Linked DNA regions of Homo sapiens: region 1 is linked to region 2. Evidence: promoter capture Hi-C in 16 types of primary human blood cells and fetal thymus (Javierre and others, 2016). All regions are on one chromosome and are shown on one strand. The core of a region is centred on a gene start or on the middle of the fragment in contact, and the rest is flanking DNA. Distances in the headings are between cores, read along the strand shown.

Region 1 (3,534 bases), core at 1,035-3,534, 400 kb before region 2:
AACTTCTGGGTTCAAGCGATCCTCGCACCTCAGCCTCCCCAGTAGCTGGGACTACAGGCATGCATCACTGCACCTGGCTCCCTCAGACTTTATTTGTTTGTTTATTTTTGTAATTAAGACAGAGTCTCGCTGTGTCACCCAAGCTGGGCCACTGTTGCCCAGGCTGGGCTGCAGTGGCGCGATCTCAGCTCACTGCAACCTCTGCCTCCCAGACTCAAGCAATTGTCCTGCCTCAGCCTTCCCAAGTAGCTGGGACTACGGGCGTGTGCTGCCATGCCTAGCTAATTTTTTTTTTTTTTTTGTATATTTAGTAGACACGTGGTTTCGCCATGTTGGCCAGGCTGGTTGACCTCAAGTGATCCGACCATGTCAGCCTCCCAAAGTGCTGGGATTACAGGCATGAGCCTCCATGCTGGCCTCCCTCAGACTTTAAAATCAAGCTATTCCACGATATTCCCCAAACCTAATAAGAAAGTGATTACCTGTGTCTTTTCTTTCTGCTTGCCCATTCTTCATTATCTTTCAGACCCAGCTGAGATACTACTCCTAGGAAACCCATAGTCCTCAGAGTCCTTCTCCTCTTCCTCCCCAGAGGTCCCTGTCTCTCCCTCAAACACAACTTTGACACCCCTACACCTCTGTGTCTGGATCTGTCTCCCTAAACACATTGGGACAAGGTCAGGAGCTGACCCACTCATTTACTACTCATTCAGCAAGCACTTGTGGAATAACCACTGTGTGCCCGGCCCAGTTCCAGGAAAGTGGATTGAAAACATAAACACAATGAATAACACTCATCTCTGTCTCAGTATCAATCCACCTCGAAGGAATGAATACATGGGAAGGTCCCACCTGGAGTGAGGCTACAAGAACATGACCAGGACGTTTAGCAGGGAGTGAGCCCCCCACCTGGTCCCAGAGAAGAGGGAGATCTGAGAAGACACTGAGGTCTGAGATTAATTTGGGGCAGCGTTGGGGGAGAGGCGCGACCCTAGGTGGCCTTGGCTATGGATGTAGGTTTCAGAGCTCAGACATACCCAGTTGGCCTGTGGGTTTAGAGAGAGTGTAGAGGCTGCAGATCTGCAAGATGATCTGCCGGAGGGACGCCAGACTGGACCTGAGCCCTGGAGGCGTCTCTAATTTCCTTTCTCTTTCTGCACCTTCTTCTACCCTCCAAGCAGGTCCTATGGTGTCTTGAATGCAAAGATATGTAGTTTATATGTTATGCCACGCGCGCGCACACACACACGGTGTTTTGAGTAGGGGTCCTGTGATGTCTTGAATGCAAAGATATGTACTTTAGATTTCAACACACACACACACACACACACACACACACACACACACACACCCACGGTGTTTTGAGTAGGGGAAGCCCACGAGTAGATAGGCTCACTAAAGCCCTGGCGCGGCCTTAGAGTGGCTCCTTAGAAGGGAGCCTCGAATTTTCACATTTTGTCATCTTCCTTTTCTGTCCCCCACATCAGTAGAAAATAGGAGCGTCCCCCCCAGCCAGGTGCATTCGAGCCACCCCTTCAAGGGAATATAAGAATGGACTCGTCCACTCGCTCCCCTCCCCCCACCACGTGAATGGGTCACCCCCCCCCCCGCAACAGTAGGTGGTCCCTTCCGCACATTTCACTCTGTACAGCAAATGGTTTCTTCCCATTTGCTAGACAGAGGGCTAGATTTTCCCCGCCCACTCTCGACTCTTCAGGTAGTTCGCCCCTCCCCGTGACCGGTGGGTGGTTTCTCCCTCCTCCCCGCCTCGGGAGCTGGATGGTCTCGCCTCTCCCTCCCCCCACCCCGTGCCGGGTGCGCGGCCTGGGAGTCAGCGGCCCGAGCGGGAAGCGCCGGGCGAGCCCACTGTGCGGCCGTCGTGGGGGAAGCGAAGGTTCCTGATTCCACCTACCTCCTAAGTGAAGGCTTCCGTCCCTGGAGAGGAGGCGGCGCCCTGTATCGGCCTTCGTCCTCCGCGGGTGTGCTAGCGTTGGGACGGTCCTTTGTTGCCGCGAGGGGTAGGAGTGGGCGTGGCGGAGCCAGCTCCGTTCGGAACACTCCCGGGCCGACCCGACTCGCTCATCCTGCAGGAGCTGCGGCGCCAAGATGAGTGGAGAGGAGAACCCAGCCAGCAAGCCCACGCCGGTGCAGGACGTACAGGGCGACGGGCGCTGGATGTCCCTGGTGAGCGTTCCCACCTGGGATATTGAGGAGTCCGGGGGCGCGGGGGGTGGCTCAGGAGAACGGCTGGTTCGTGCCACTCTCACTACCTGATTGGGAAACTGAGGGCAGTTGAGGAGGCGCTGCCTAAGGGAGCAGGGCGGGGCGGGCCCTGGAGCGTGCATGCCATTGACTCCCTCTCGCGCGCTCCCGCAGCACCATCGGTTCGTGGCTGACAGCAAAGATAAGGAACCCGAAGTCGTCTTCATCGGGGACTCCTTGGTCCAGCTCATGCACCAGTGCGAGGTGAGGGCAGTCCCTCTCCCCCTGCCCCATCCAGCCCTGTGTCCATGCTGACACATCTGGACCAGAACCCAGGCCAGGTGAGGTATTATGAGAGTACCCAGATTGGCCTCAGGCAGCCCGAGGCTCTGAGAATCTTGGTGTAAGGTGCAACATTCTATTGAGAAAGAAATGTATGCCTTGGTTTTATCAGATTGGATTTGTGTATAATGTACTAAGACCTAAAATGAGGCTTTCCTGCCATAGGCTTGCCTAAAGTGAGGCTCTTTCTTGTTTGCTTTAAGTAGTGCGCAGCCCTGTTGGGTTTACACAAAGCTATAGTCACTTTACAGGAAGCGAAGGGCAACTCTAATGGCACTCCACAAAGAGGACTCAATCATAATAATATCTTTCCACAAAGCATGTCCAACTGTAATGGGTTTCATCAAAATAAGTTTCAACTGTAATGCCATTGATTCAATGCATGGCTCAAGCAGACTGGATTTTCATGAAGTGAGTCTTGCTTCTATGGGGCTTGGTTTGTTTTGTTGGTTGGTTGGTTGGTTGGTTGGTTTTTGAGACAGGGTCTTGCTCTGTCACCCAGGCTGGCGTGCAGTGGTATGATCTCTGTTCACTGCAACCTCTGCCTCCTGGGCTCAAGTGATCCTCCCACCTTAGTCTCCGAGTAGCTGGGACTACAGGTGCACATCACCATGCACCTGGCTAATTTTTGTAATTTTTGTAGAGATGGGGTTTTGCCCTGTTGCGCAGGTTGGTCTTGAACTCCTGGGCTCAAGCAGTCCGCCCACCTCAGCATGAGCAACAGAGCCTGGGGCTTGGTTTAAAGTGAGAGACTCTAGGCAGGGTGTGGTGGCTTACGCCTGTAATCCCAGCACTTTGGGAGGCCAAGGCAGGCGGATGACCTGAGGCCAGGAGTTCGAGACCACCCTGGCCAACATGGCGAAATCCTGTCTCTACTAAAAATACAAAAATTAGCTGGGCATGGTGGCACATGCCTATAGTCCCAGCTACTTGGCAGGCTGAGGCAGGAGAATCGCCAGAACCTGGGAAGCAGAGATTGCAATGAGCCGA
Region 2 (3,537 bases), core at 598-3,097:
ACGAGGTCAAGAGATCAAGACCATCCTGGCCAACATGGTGAAACCCCATCTCTACTAAAAATACAAAAATTAGCCAGGAGTGGTGGTGGGCACCTGTAGTTCCAGCTACTTGGGAGGCTGAGGCAGGACAATCGCTTGAACCTGGGAGGTGGAGGTTGCAGTGAGCGGAGATCACGCCACTGCACTCTAGCCTAGGCGACAGAGCGAGATCGTCTCAAAAAAAAAAAAAAAAAAAAAAAACCAGTGAGGATTCCTCAACCCACTGCCTTTCCCTTTTCGCTGTGGCAGCTGGCCAGAGTGACCAATGGTCCTCATTTGCCTGCCTGGGCTTTCAGTGATAAAACTGTGAATATCCTGAGCAAATGGGGACAAGCTAGTCATCCCACCTGCCAGCAAGCTTGCAGCTGTGTTTAGTGTCTAACCATCAAGCCACATTATACAGTGGTTGACAGCCTCAGATCCAGGGACCCCCACATCCCCGGAGGGCATATGTGTGAGTTTCAGGGGCCCTAGAAGTCCCCTGAGACTAAAAGCACGATTTTGTACATTATGCATATTCTTTCTGGGGAAAGAAATTGCTATCCTGTCCAACGTGATAGTCACCAGCCGTGTACAACTCTTTACATTTTCGTTAATTGCAATGAAATTTTAAGTCAGTGCTCAGTTGTATTTAGTGCTTTTTTTTTGAGACACAGTCTTGCTCTGTCACCTAGATTGAAGTGTGGTGGAGTGATCTGGGTTCATTGCAACCTCCATCTCCTGCTTCCTGGGTTCAAGCAATTCTCCTGGCTTACTCTCTCGAGTATCTGGGATTACAGGCATGCGCCACTATGCTTGGCTAATTTTTGTATGTTTAGTAGAGATGGGGTTTCACCATGTTGGCCAGGCTAGTCTCGAACTCCTGACCTCAAGTGATCTGCCCACCTCGGCTTCCCAAAGTGCTGGGATCACAGGCATGAGCCACTGTGCCTGGCCTAGTGCATTTCAAGTGCTCACCAGCCATAGGTGGCCGATGGTCCCCATGGTGAGCAGTACAAATAAAGCACATTTCCATCTTCCAGAAAGTCCTAATGGGTAGCACATGGCTCATGTTTTTTTTTTTTTTTATCATGTCCTTAGAAGGATCTGTGACCCAAAAAGTACTCAACTACTCCCCTAAAATTTTTGAATAAGTATCTTTTTCACTATGAAGTAATCTGTAAATAAGCTTTCAGTCAAGTCCCAAACCTTTCTCTTGGGCTAGGCACAGTGGCTCACGCCTGTAATCCCAGCACTTTGGGAGGCTGAGGCGGGCGTTCGAGACCAGCCTGACCAACATGGAGAAACCCCGTCTCTACTAAAAATACAAAATTAGCCGGGCGTGGTGGCACATGCCTGTAATCCCAGCTACTCAGGAGGCTGAGGCAGGAGAATCACTTGAACCTGGGAGGCGTAGGTTGTGGTGAGCCGAGATTGTGCCATTGCACTCCAGCCTGGGCAACAAGAGCAAAACTCTGTCTTAAAAAAAAAAAAAAAAAAAAAGCTTTCTCTTTTTGCCACCAGCCTCCCTAGCCACCACACAATTAGCAAAGGAAAAAAGGAAAAAGACAAAAATGATACACTCATCATCTCTCCACGCAGAAGCAAGCACTGCTAATATACTGATCATTCTCCCAAACTTTCCCCTGTGGGGATCTTTTCTCCCCTAAGCAATTAAGATCAAACTAGTAACAACAATCTCATTAAAATGCTCTTCCTTGACTGGGCCTGGTGGCTCACACTTGTAATCCCAAGACTTTGGGAGGCTGAGGTAGGAGGATCACTTGAGCCCAAGGGTTCGAGACCAGCCTGGCCAACATGGCGAAACCCCATCTCTACAAAGAATACAAAAATTAGCCAGGCATGGTGGTACATGCCTGTTCAGCTACTCGGGAGGCTGAGGTGGGAGGATCAGTTGAGCCTGGGAGGGTAAGGCTGCAGTGAGCCGTGATTGTGCCACTGCACTCCAGCCTGAGAGACCAACTGAGACTCTGCCTCAAATAAAAATTTAAAAAAATAAATAAAATAAAATGCTCTTCCTCTGTGCCCAGCACTATGCTAAACATTTCACACAAATCATCTCATCTTCATGACAATATCTGAGGTAGGAACTATTAATGCCCACATTTCACAAGCAAGGAAATAAAAGCTTGCACCAGAAATGCAGTGTTCTCAACATCAGCACTGTATTGCACTACTAGAAATGTTTGGAAATGTCCCTTCCACAGTGGCATTCACATTCCATCAAAATGCTCTGTGTTGAAACAATCTGAACTTGGAACAAGAGGGAATTTGAAGCTGCCTTCAAGTTCTCCCGATGGTAAATGACACCAAGATGAACATCTCTCTGCGCCTGTCTTTGCCTTTGCCAGAGCTGGACTGTGTCCTTGGCCACAGTGGGGTGATGGGGGCAGTACTCACCGCTGATGACCTCCTGCCGCTTCACCTGGCTCTTGGGCAGGCTGTGCAGGGTGTCTGGGGGGACGAGTTCCCGCCAGCCGGGAGGCTCTTCTGGTTCAAGCTCCAGTCCCGACCGCCCCGGCTCCCCCTCATCTCCAGGCTCGGGGCTGTGGACAGAGGCCTTGTTAGGGCCCCAGCTTGGGCCATCCCAAGAAGCAGCCTTCAGCCTCTTAGAGCGTTCAACCCCGGTCAGTGGCCTTGGCATTCGATGCCCGCAGGGTGGCCCGTGCAGCAGACCAGGTCTCTAGATCGGACCACACTAGAGTTCCCAGATCTCTAGAAGCATTCTACCCCCTCCTCCTCCAAGGTCTGTGACCACAGTTGGCCTCAATGACCTCGGTCTCCAACGCCCATTCCTCTGTGACTCTGACAACAATCCCTCCCTGATTCTCCAGGCTGCCTTAGTGGATGGGGGAAGGGAGAGGGTTGACATACGTGGCTCGTCGGGCAGGGCCAAGCACTGCCGTGGCGGAACTGGGGTCCATGTCCACGTCGCTCCGGGAGCGGCCCCCACCCCGGCCCTTAGCCCCGAGGCTGCCCCGGGAAGGCCGGCGGCGGTCACTCACCCGCAGGCTCTCTGAGCGCCCCAGACGCCCTGATAGCCTGGACCCCGAGGCCAAGGACAGAGTCAGGCAGATGCCGGGGACAGAGACAAGGAGAGACCAAGACAAGAACAGAGACGAAGAGAAACCAGGACAGGGACAGAGACGGGGAGAGACCAGGGCAGGGACAGAGGTGGGGAGAGGCCAGGGCAGGGACAGAAATTGGGGAGAGACGAGGACAGGGACAGAGACGGGGAGAGACCAGGACAGGGACAGAGACAGGGAGAGACCAGGACCGGGGCAAGGGTGACCAGGACAGGGATCAAACATGCAACAGAAGAGAGGAGAGAGTCAGAGGAGTGGTGGGATTTTAGGGGCACTGGGGTAGTGGGGGGTCTTGGGGGAGGGGGGATACTGAAATTTGATGGGGGAAGGGATGGGGAACCCAGGATGGAGCATAGGACTGACCCCCTCCCTTCCCTGAGGCAGGGGGATGGCAACAGAGGGGGTGTTATGG

Evidence for each region. Contacts are between HindIII fragments. The CHiCAGO score rates a contact against its expected background, and 5 or more counts as called.
Region 1: the fragment with the promoter of PRR19 here is called in contact with a fragment that was not itself captured in region 2 in 1 of 17 cell types (total B cells); the score reaches 5.6 in total B cells.

What each region holds. Positions count from the first base shown.
Region 1 is chr19:42,300,882-42,304,415 of GRCh38, reverse strand. PRR19 (proline rich 19) reads right to left here and starts at 2,284. Exons shown (of 3, transcript NM_199285.3): 1 at 1,913-2,284. It overlaps PAFAH1B3 (platelet activating factor acetylhydrolase 1b catalytic subunit 3), which reads left to right and starts at 1,792. Exons shown (of 5, transcript NM_002573.4): 1 at 1,792-2,184; 2 at 2,377-2,466. The coding sequence starts at 2,107. RefSeq lists a silencer at 1,678-1,897 and enhancers at 1,451-2,105, 2,058-2,187, 2,268-2,317. The HindIII fragment of the contact is 26,667 bases long and covers 1-3,534 here.
Region 2 is chr19:41,897,490-41,901,026 of GRCh38, reverse strand. It overlaps ARHGEF1 (Rho guanine nucleotide exchange factor 1), which reads right to left. Exons shown (of 29, transcript NM_004706.4): 14 at 2,440-2,585. Among named protein-coding and RNA genes, the nearest start is that of ARHGEF1, 16 kb to the right of the region's middle. RefSeq lists an enhancer at 2,521-3,021. The HindIII fragment of the contact is 645 bases long and covers 1,525-2,169 here.